2 separate regions of the Homo sapiens genome follow, and region 1 is linked to region 2. The links are contacts of gene promoters, found by promoter capture Hi-C in blood cells and fetal thymus (Javierre and others, 2016). All regions are on one chromosome and are shown on one strand. The core of a region is centred on a gene start or on the middle of the fragment in contact, and the rest is flanking DNA. Distances in the headings are between cores, read along the strand shown. Region 1 has its middle 37 kb from the start of ANKRD55. Region 2 holds the start of PLK2 (polo like kinase 2).

Region 1 (4,748 bases), core at 1,137-3,636, 2.2 Mb after region 2:
CTCATTATAATGACTTATTTCCTCAGCCCTCCTGCCCACTGCTTTTACTCCATCTCCCAAGCCCAGAGAGCTAGCACCCCCATTTAGCCATCTTCCTTGCATGGCCAGAAACCCCATGGGGCCGATAATCTATCTGAAAACATTTCATTAATGATAAAAATATATATTGTGATCTAATGACTTAAACCTATTTCCTTTGCAGAAAGTGTTGCAAATGTTATAATACAGCAAACTCCTTGAATGTGTGTGTCTTCCAGTAATTTTGATAGACTGGCCAGGGTGAAAGTTAATCCATGAATGTGATAGAGTGTTTTCTCTGAGAAAAGCTAACTTTATGCCTTTAAATCCATGAGTTGTACATGAACATGACATGAGCAAACATGTATTGTTCAATGGTTCCTGGTGGCCACTGTTTTTATTCTGGATTTTTGCTTCATAAAAACGATAAATCTGATGTTACAAGCTTTCTAAGAAAGCTCACATTTTTCCTAAGGCTCAAAATTGAAAGGAAAAAGATGTTGCATGGCTTCATGAGCCACTTAGTACTGCAATTCAACTGTTAAAAATTACAAACAAAAATTTTATTTAATTTCTTGCTTGCCCTTAATAGGAAAGGCATCTTTAAAGGATTGTTGACTATAGTTTCTGGAATGGTTCATACTGGAAGATCCTCTCAGCTAATCAAACACTGCTCCTTTTTCTTTTCACTAGATGCATTGTGGCCTGAACATGAACATACATGAGGCTAAGTAATTTTTTTTTTTTTTTTTGAGACAGGGTCTTGCTCTGTCACTCAGGCTGGAGTGCAGTGGCACAATCATGGCTCACTGCAACCTCAAGGGCTCAAGTGATCTTCCTGCCTCAGCCTCCCTAGTAGCCGGTGTGTGCCACCACACCCAGCCAATTTTTTTGTAGAGATGGGGTCCCACTATGTTGCCCAGACTGGTCTCAAACTCCTGGGCTCAAGTGATCCTCCCACCTCACTCTCCCAAACTGTTGGGATTATAGGCATGAGCCACCAGGCCTGACCAGCAATTTATACCTTCTCTGACTCTTAAACCTGCCCTGGGGCCATTGGTGTACTCATTGTATTTAACAACCAGCTTTCTGGGGTGCTGCAGGGAGAGGGGTAGTCCTGATTTGCAGTAAATGGCCATTTTTGTAGCATAAATACTCCCACCATGGCCAACATCAAGCTACCAACATGACATCACTTAACTAGGGGCAGGGAAGAGATTACACAACTGGCTCTCATGAGCTTGTGTGAGCCACCTCCAGCCCGGATGCCCGTGTGTACCTATAAACCAACCAGAACCACCCACCCACTTAAGCATTGTCTCCAAACTGCCAGTGACTTAAAAAAAGTTCTGTACCCTAGAGAGATAAGGGTTCAGGAAACAGGCTATAGTCCTTGATTTTGGGTGTTCACATGCTTAACTCAGAGAGATGACTGTCCTGTATCCATGATCAACAGAGAGGTTTTTGCTGGGAACAAGAGAAACGGGAAGAGAATAAGTGAAAGAAAAAATAAAATCAGCAAACTGTCTTGAAGTCAAAAGTGCGCTTGTGGTAAAGCATATGAGATCAACCACCTCCTATGTTTTCACAGTTCTGCTCTGCCTGGAGGGAAGTACCAGCTCCAAAGGAGGTCCAGCTGGTCTCCTGTGCGCAGGATTTGCAGGCTGAGGGTTAAAGGCGCTCTAAGCCATGGAGCACCTCTGACCCCCACTGGCTGCTGTCATGCATTGCACCTCAGGGATGGCCAAGGCCCCTCAGTACATTGCCCTTTCCTAAACACAAGTGACCAGTTTCTCCTTTGCTGTATTGTCAGGACTTTCCACCAAGTGCCATCTATTTCTCATCCATCTCCTTTGAAATATTTTCACTCTTTATCTACTTCTCTGGGCTGGTAGATATTTCTAAGTCATTGTATAGTGCATGGATTTTATTTTCATTTTCGTTTGATCAGAAAATGAGTCGAGAAGATATGACATTGTTGCATATGTGGTTGATTTTCATTTCTCTTTTTCTCATCCTTTTGGTGACAAACACCAGGAGCTGCTTCTTTTTGTATAAGAAGTCCTTCAGCACCTATACTGGTCATCATCTGAAGCGCATACTCTCTTGCGGTCCCTTTGATAGAGCAAGAGCACCACCCACAGCAACAAAACATGCCCTGAGTCTCTGGAGGGAGCCTGGACAGTTAATGAAACCCAGGGCCAATGGACCACAAAGCCCAGTCCGTAATCAGAGTGCTGCATCAATTGCGCACACTCAAGTGTCTGATTCCATCGGTTCAGTTTGGTATCTGTATGGCGTCTGTCTATTTGTATGATACCTTGGTAATCTGACTCATGAATTAGACCAGACCAAAGCAACCTGGGGGAAAGGCGGAGTATTTGTGGGTAAGGAACATGCCTTCCAGCCTTGTTCTAAAAACCAAACATTAGTTGTACATTCCAGTTATTCCTCAAAGGAATTATTTTTTTCCAGTACCCTGTATTAAATTAATTTTGATTTTGCACCTAGTCTCACTGCTTTAGATCATAACCTGAGTGTGACTTCCCTTTGCTGAGCAGGAAAAGTCTTGCCTCTCTACATCTCTATGTATCACTTTCAAATACAAAATTCTGGGTTTCTTATTCTAAAGAACTGCTTTCTGCTCTTGTTTCTCATGGCCAGCAGAGGGACTCCAGAGAAACCCTCAGACAGAGCGTGGGATTAGGCCACTTTGTGGTGGTGAAAGTTCCCCCAGCTCTCTAGAGAAGTGACATTTAACCCTAGGGTTTCCCAGCACACATACAAAAGGTTTGAGAAATAGAGCCAGGTCTCTCAGGACCACAGGTAACAATAATCTTTACCTGAGGCTGAGAAGAGCTTTGTAATCACATCCACCCCTGGCAGAGAGAAAGAAAGCAGGTTAGCACTTAAAAAAAAAAAAAAAAAAAAAGAATTGTGAAAACTGAAGGAGAAAACAACCAGAACCGTGGACGCGAGCCATTATTCCTCGTTGACGTCACAGCCCTCCAGAGCTGCAGAGAGGGGATATTTGGGAGACTAGGGACCAACTCAATTTTATTATGTTTTGTTGGCTGATAAACTTCACAAATGTCCTAGTCATCACTGAAATTATTTAGTCACTTGTCACACTTTTCTCCTTTATTTCCCAATGTTATAGACAATGAGCAAATTGTATAGGAAATAAACTGTTTGTTTTGCAACAGATGCTGGAGAGCATGTGGAGAAATAGGAATGCTTTTACACTGTTGGTGGGAGTGTAATTTAGTTCAACCACTGTGGAAGACAGTGTGGTGATTCCTCAAGGATCTAGAACCAGAAATACCATTTGACCCAGTAATCCCGTTACTGGGTATATACCCAAAGGATTATAAATCATTCTACTATGAAGACACATGCATGCGTATGTTTATTGCAGCCCTACTCACAATAGCAAAGTCTTGGAACCAACCCAAATGCCCATCAATGATAGACTGGATAAAGAATGGATAGAATGGACATAGACACCATGGAATACTATGCAGCCATAAAAAAGGATGAGTTCATGTCCTTTGCAGGGACATGGATGAAGCTGGAAACCATCATTCTCAGGAAACTAACACAGGAACAGAAAACCAAACACTTTCATGTTCTCACTCATAAGTGGGAGTTGAACAATGAGAACACATGGACACAGGGAGGGGAACATAACATACTGGAGCCTGTTGCGGGGGGTGGGGGACTAGGGGAGGGATAGCATTAGGACAAATACCTAATGTAGATGACAGGCTGATGGGTGTAGCAAACCACCATGGCACGTGTGTACCTATGTAACAAACCTGCACATTCTACACATGTACCCCAGAACTTACAGTAAAAAAAAATAAACTTTAAAAAGGATATGAACTCTTTGTTTTAATAAAATGTATATTATAATCAGGCACAGTGGCCCACACCTATAACCTTAGCTCTTTGGGAGGCTGAGGCAGGCAAATCACTTGAGCTCAGGAGTTTGAGACCAGCCTGGACAACACGGCAAAACCCCATCTCTAAAAAGAACAATTACACAAATTAGCCAAGTGTGATGGGTGTGGTGGTGCATGCCTGTAGTCCCAGCTACATGGAAGGCTGAGGTGCAAGGGTCATTTGAGCCCAGGAGGTCGAGGCTGCAGTTAGCCGAGATCACACCACTGCACTCCAGCCTGGGCAACAACGAGACCCTGTCTCAAAAAATTAAATAAAATGTATATTACAGTCAGACAGGCTACTCTGTGAATTCTGAATGGGCCACTGTCTCTAATCAGAAAGCTTTGTAGATATTCTTGGCACATGGCAATGGCATCCTCAATCAGTGTCTATGTGGCTTTACTAAAAATTAACCAAAGATCGGTTTTATTTCTTAATACTAGACAAGACTGATCAAGCAATAAGAAGTTGTGGTGTACTTGCCATGTTCAGGGAGTATATAAGGCAATGAATGCAAGGGTTGCAGCAAAGAAACATGGGACACAGTCCCTGAATATAAGAAGCTATCTACCTAGGAAGATGAGGCCCAATCCGATACAAGCAATAAAGAAGTATCAAGTAATCTCTTTACTGATAATACTGATCAGGATAGTAATAGTGGCAGTGTATTGAGTGTTTACTCTGTTCCAACGACTGTGCTAAATGCTTTATATAAATCATGTTGTTGAATCCTCAAAACAACTTTATTAAGTAGGTACTATAATTATTGCCACTTTAGGGGTAAG
Region 2 (4,483 bases), core at 1,984-4,483:
AGAACCATTTGTTTTCTGTTGGATAATTGGTATTTTATCCAATTGTAGGAGTTTTTATATAACAGGAAGATAAGCTCTTTCTCTGTGATGAGTTGAAAATAATTTTTCCAGTGTTATTTATCCTTTGACTTTATTTGTGGTGTTTTGTTATTTTAAATCAATGAAAGGGTTTTGTTTCTATATAGTTACATTAATGAATCTTGCTTTTTTTTTTTTTTTAGGGATTCTAGATTTTGTAAATAGTTGAAAGTTCTACCACATTCAGGCTATGAAAGAATTCTTTCATATTGTCTTAAAATTTCACGTATTTCAAACTTTCATTTGCTTGAAAATAAGCCAGATATGAAGCATGGATCCATTTTTTCCTTCCTACTGGTTACCAAATTGACTCCATGATATTTAGTAATTAGTCTACTTAATAGAAAGCGCATTTATTTCCTTTTTTGTTCTATAGACTACAATTTTGGTTCTGTCCACATGATGGCACCACAACCCCAAAAAAATCATGTTCTCAGTCGGAAAGAAGACAACATAAGATTTACACAGCGTTAATATTTTATTAAATGCCTCCATGTTGTGGCAGACAGACCTGAATTTCACATGGAATGTTCAACAGTTTATCAAATACTGAAGTCCATTTGGTAAAGATACATACCATAGTGTATGCTAATCAAAGAAGAAATTGACATTTAAAAAAAAATCATGACAATCTATTCTTCAGTTTTTTATCTTAGGCCACAAATGAATACACATACACATACACACATATGTATACATATACAGTTTATTATCAACCATAAAGACATGGTGTGTAAACTAGCTTTGATAAATTCTAGTAATATTTTCTAAACCTGCAAGCCTTCTACATCTTAGAGAGTAGGTTTGCACAAATCTGGGAAGCAAAGGTCACCCCTGGGCTTATGAATAAAGAGGATAATTACGTAATTCTGAATTTCCACCCCTAAGCCCCACCCCTTATTCCATCCCTGACAATCTTGGGGTTAAAGTCTATTGTCACTTATGAGAAACATGCCTGGACTTGCCCTGCACTCTTTAAAGAATCAAAAACGGAAGTGACAGCAAAGACTTTCCCTTTCTCCTCGCTAATGGCAAAGCCTTTCCCTTTCTCCTCTCTAATGGCAATAAGCCTCTTTTCCACATTATGCTGGAAGTATTTGAGACACAGTATTTTTGTAAATGTTCGATTAATGTTGATACCACACATACCTAAATTTGACAGTGGACTGCAGCAACTTTTTGTATGTACCTTCCAGGGATTCAATAATCTGGTATTCTAAATTTCTCTGGAATTTAGCTTCAAAAAACTATTTACCATATCCTGTTAACATAGGTAAAAAGATTCAAGTGTGCTGCTAATTAACCTAACCTCGATGATCTAGTAAAAATATACAATAATTACCTAAGTTCTCCAAGCCTCATCTATAAAATGGGAATAATAATGTAGGAGATGAGAATATGCCACCCCAAATATGGCCCTGGGATAAAGATTATTTTAAGATAATTATTTTGAGAACCAGCAGACCCAGGAAATGCTCTAAAAATGGCATATTACCCTTTCGTAAGGGAAACGTACATTCACTAAAAAAAAAAACAACAAAAACAAAAAACAAAAAAACCCCACAAAACTCCATTTGTAAAAGTGTCTCCTCTGTACCAGGAAGAATGACTCTAAATCATGAAAAACTTATCAATGAAGAAATAAGAAACCCCACTCCTGTTTACCGTACATTTCCTGGTCATGATTCCTTAACTTGCCTGCCCCACTCTTTTCTTTTGGTTTAGCTAAAGATAGTATTTAAGCCCGATTTTAAACCATCTCTAATTTTCCTGGTTATCTCCCATGTATATATGAGACGTATATGTTAATAAGCTTCTTTGTTTTCTTGTTAATCTGTCTGGTTACAGCGACCCAGGCCAAAACTTTGAAAGGTGGAAAATTATTTTTCCTTCCTTACAATATTTCTCTCAGAATTGTTGTAGGATGAAATAAGGCATTTAAAAATACTGCACAGTCCTCAATAAATGTTACTCTATCGTAATTAGAACAAGAAAAACAAACAAAAAAACGTGTTCCTAGATTAGTCAAACTGCACAGCAAAATCTGGAAATGGGAAACTAAGCTGTGTTTGCACTCACTGGCCTACGCTCCTCTCTTCATCCTACCAATCTCCCTACCCCAGAAAGTCTCAGATTGACTCTCCAGGAACCAGGGCAGCTCATGAGCCATCTCAACAGATGCATTCGGAAGAAGTCATAGATGACTCTGATTGGAAACTCACAATCGGCATCGATGTTTAGTACTAGTAACTGTCAAAGGCCCACGGTTGTCAACCGCTGCCCACTTCGACACCTAACGGCATTCCGGAACATTCCACAAGATGGCGCCCTTGCTTTCCAATCTTCGGGCTACGGGCGGAGGACGCCTTGCCAGGACGCCGACCTCGCTCTGCAAGGTTCAGGGGCCGACCTCAGACAGAGGCTCGCTCTAGGGGCATGGGCGGGGGCCAGACGGGCCTCGAGTGGGATCCTGGCACGGTTGGCCGATCGGCCCGGGATCCCGGCTGCGGGCCCGTGTCTGCCCTAGCGCGATGGGCTCGAATGCCCGGCTCCACGAATCCCGGCCTTTCACCCCCACGGCCTCTCGGCACTGCCCCAGCTAGACACCAGCGAGCTCGTCACAGCGCGGGCAGGCACTGCGGGGCAGCTGCAGACGAGCCCTGTCATACGGCCGGAGGAGGCCTCGCCTGCCCGTGCGGCGGGCTCCGGGCACCCTGATACCTTGACACAGGAGGCCCCGGGCGGCCGGGAAGGGCTGTGCGGGGGAGGGACTGCGTCTACACCCGCGCCCGACTCGCTCGGGTCACGGCACTGCCCTGCCACCAGGCGGCTGGGGCGGGGGTGAGGCCAGGCGTCGGCCCTCGCGATTCTGTTTTGTACGCTGAGGCTCGGAGCCTTCGAAGAACGGGACAGCGGGGCCCACGGACGGCTCTGAAGGCCTTCCCGCGGCCGCAAGAGATCTCGGCGGCCGGCGTTTGAGGCGCGCGGCTCCGCTGGGAAGCGAGACCCGGGTGGCGGGACAAGACTTGCTTCCCGGCCACGCGCGCTCGGCCGGCCGTGGGGCGGGGCATAGGCCGTGACGTGATGTCGCGTATCGAGTCTCCGCCCCCTTCCCGCCTCCCCGTATATAAGACTTCGCCGAGCGCTCTCACTCGCACAAGTGGACCGGGGTGTTGGGTGCTAGTCGGCACCAGAGGCAAGGGTGCGAGGACCACGGCCGGCTCGGACGTGTGACCGCGCCTAGGGGGTGGCAGCGGGCAGTGCGGGGCGGCAAGGCGACCATGGAGCTTTTGCGGACTATCACCTACCAGCCAGCCGCCAGCACCAAAATGTGCGAGCAGGCGCTGGGCAAGGGTTGCGGAGCGGACTCGAAGAAGAAGCGGCCGCCGCAGCCCCCCGAGGAATCGCAGCCACCTCAGTCCCAGGCGCAAGTGCCCCCGGCGGCCCCTCACCACCATCACCACCATTCGCACTCGGGGCCGGAGATCTCGCGGATTATCGTCGACCCCACGACTGGGAAGCGCTACTGCCGGGGCAAAGTGCTGGGAAAGGTGACAAGCGGAGGGCGCCGGGCTGCCGGGCGGGCGGGAGGTCTGTCCGGGCGACCCCAAGCCGGGCAAGCCCGCGGGGTCCCTCGCCCGCCGCTTCCGGGTTTTTCGGGGGTCCGATCCCAGCGCGAGGTGGGCTCCTCACCTGCCCTCTGGCTTTTGTGCGCCGGCAGCGCTGGGGATCGGCTTTGCATTCTTAGCCTCAGAACTGTGTGTCTCCCGCAGCCCAGAGAAATGCATCTTGAGTCTGGAAGCGAGGGCTTTCTACATCAGACCTCTCTCCCTCTATCTGCTCCCAGGGAATTTTCCTGACAAGTCTCATCAGAGATTATTTTTCATGTCTCCCCGTTCCAACTCCCTCCATAAAGCTCCCCTTTATAAAAGAAGAAGAGAAACTGTTTGAACTTGCTGTTTCCAGCAATGCATTTCTCTTCATGAGGGAGCTTTAACGAAGTCGAATGCCTCCCTCTGTCCACCCTCCTCCATTCCTCAATTTTTTTTTTTTTGCTTTTCTTTCTTCCCATTTATTTATTTATTTAAAATATCTGCCGTCCATTTTTGTGCCATCCTCAATTCCGTCTCGGCTTTGTTTCCTTTCAGGGTGGCTTTGCAAAATGTTACGAGATGACAGATTTGACAAATAACAAAGTCTACGCCGCAAAAATTATTCCTCACAGCAGAGTAGCTAAACCTCATCAAAGGGAAAAGGTGCGTATGACTCTTGAGTAAAGTATTTTCTTTGTGTGCAAGGATGGCCCTTCCCTGTTAGGAAAATGTCTTCTGCATGTGTAATCACTGGCTTTTCCGAGGTGACTGGAAGCTAATAAGCCTTACCTTGCTTTTTCATTTAGATTGAC

The links. The method cuts DNA at HindIII sites, captures the fragments that hold promoters and counts their contacts. A CHiCAGO score of 5 or more calls a contact.
Region 1: a fragment that was not itself captured here is called in contact with the fragment with the promoter of PLK2 in region 2 in 4 of 17 cell types (total CD8 T cells, naive CD8 T cells, naive B cells and 1 more); the score reaches 8.9 in total CD8 T cells.

Annotation. Positions count from the first base shown.
Region 1 is chr5:56,267,693-56,272,440 of GRCh38, reverse strand. No RefSeq gene overlaps it. Among named protein-coding and RNA genes, the nearest start is that of ANKRD55, 37 kb to the right of the region's middle. The HindIII fragment of the contact is 3,842 bases long and covers 466-4,307 here.
Region 2 is chr5:58,458,836-58,463,318 of GRCh38, reverse strand. It overlaps PLK2 (polo like kinase 2), which reads left to right and starts at 3,233. Exons shown (of 14, transcript NM_006622.4): 1 at 3,233-3,629; 2 at 4,227-4,334; 3 at 4,478-4,483. The coding sequence starts at 3,360. RefSeq lists a silencer at 2,736-2,915. The HindIII fragment of the contact is 4,873 bases long and covers 1,894-4,483 here.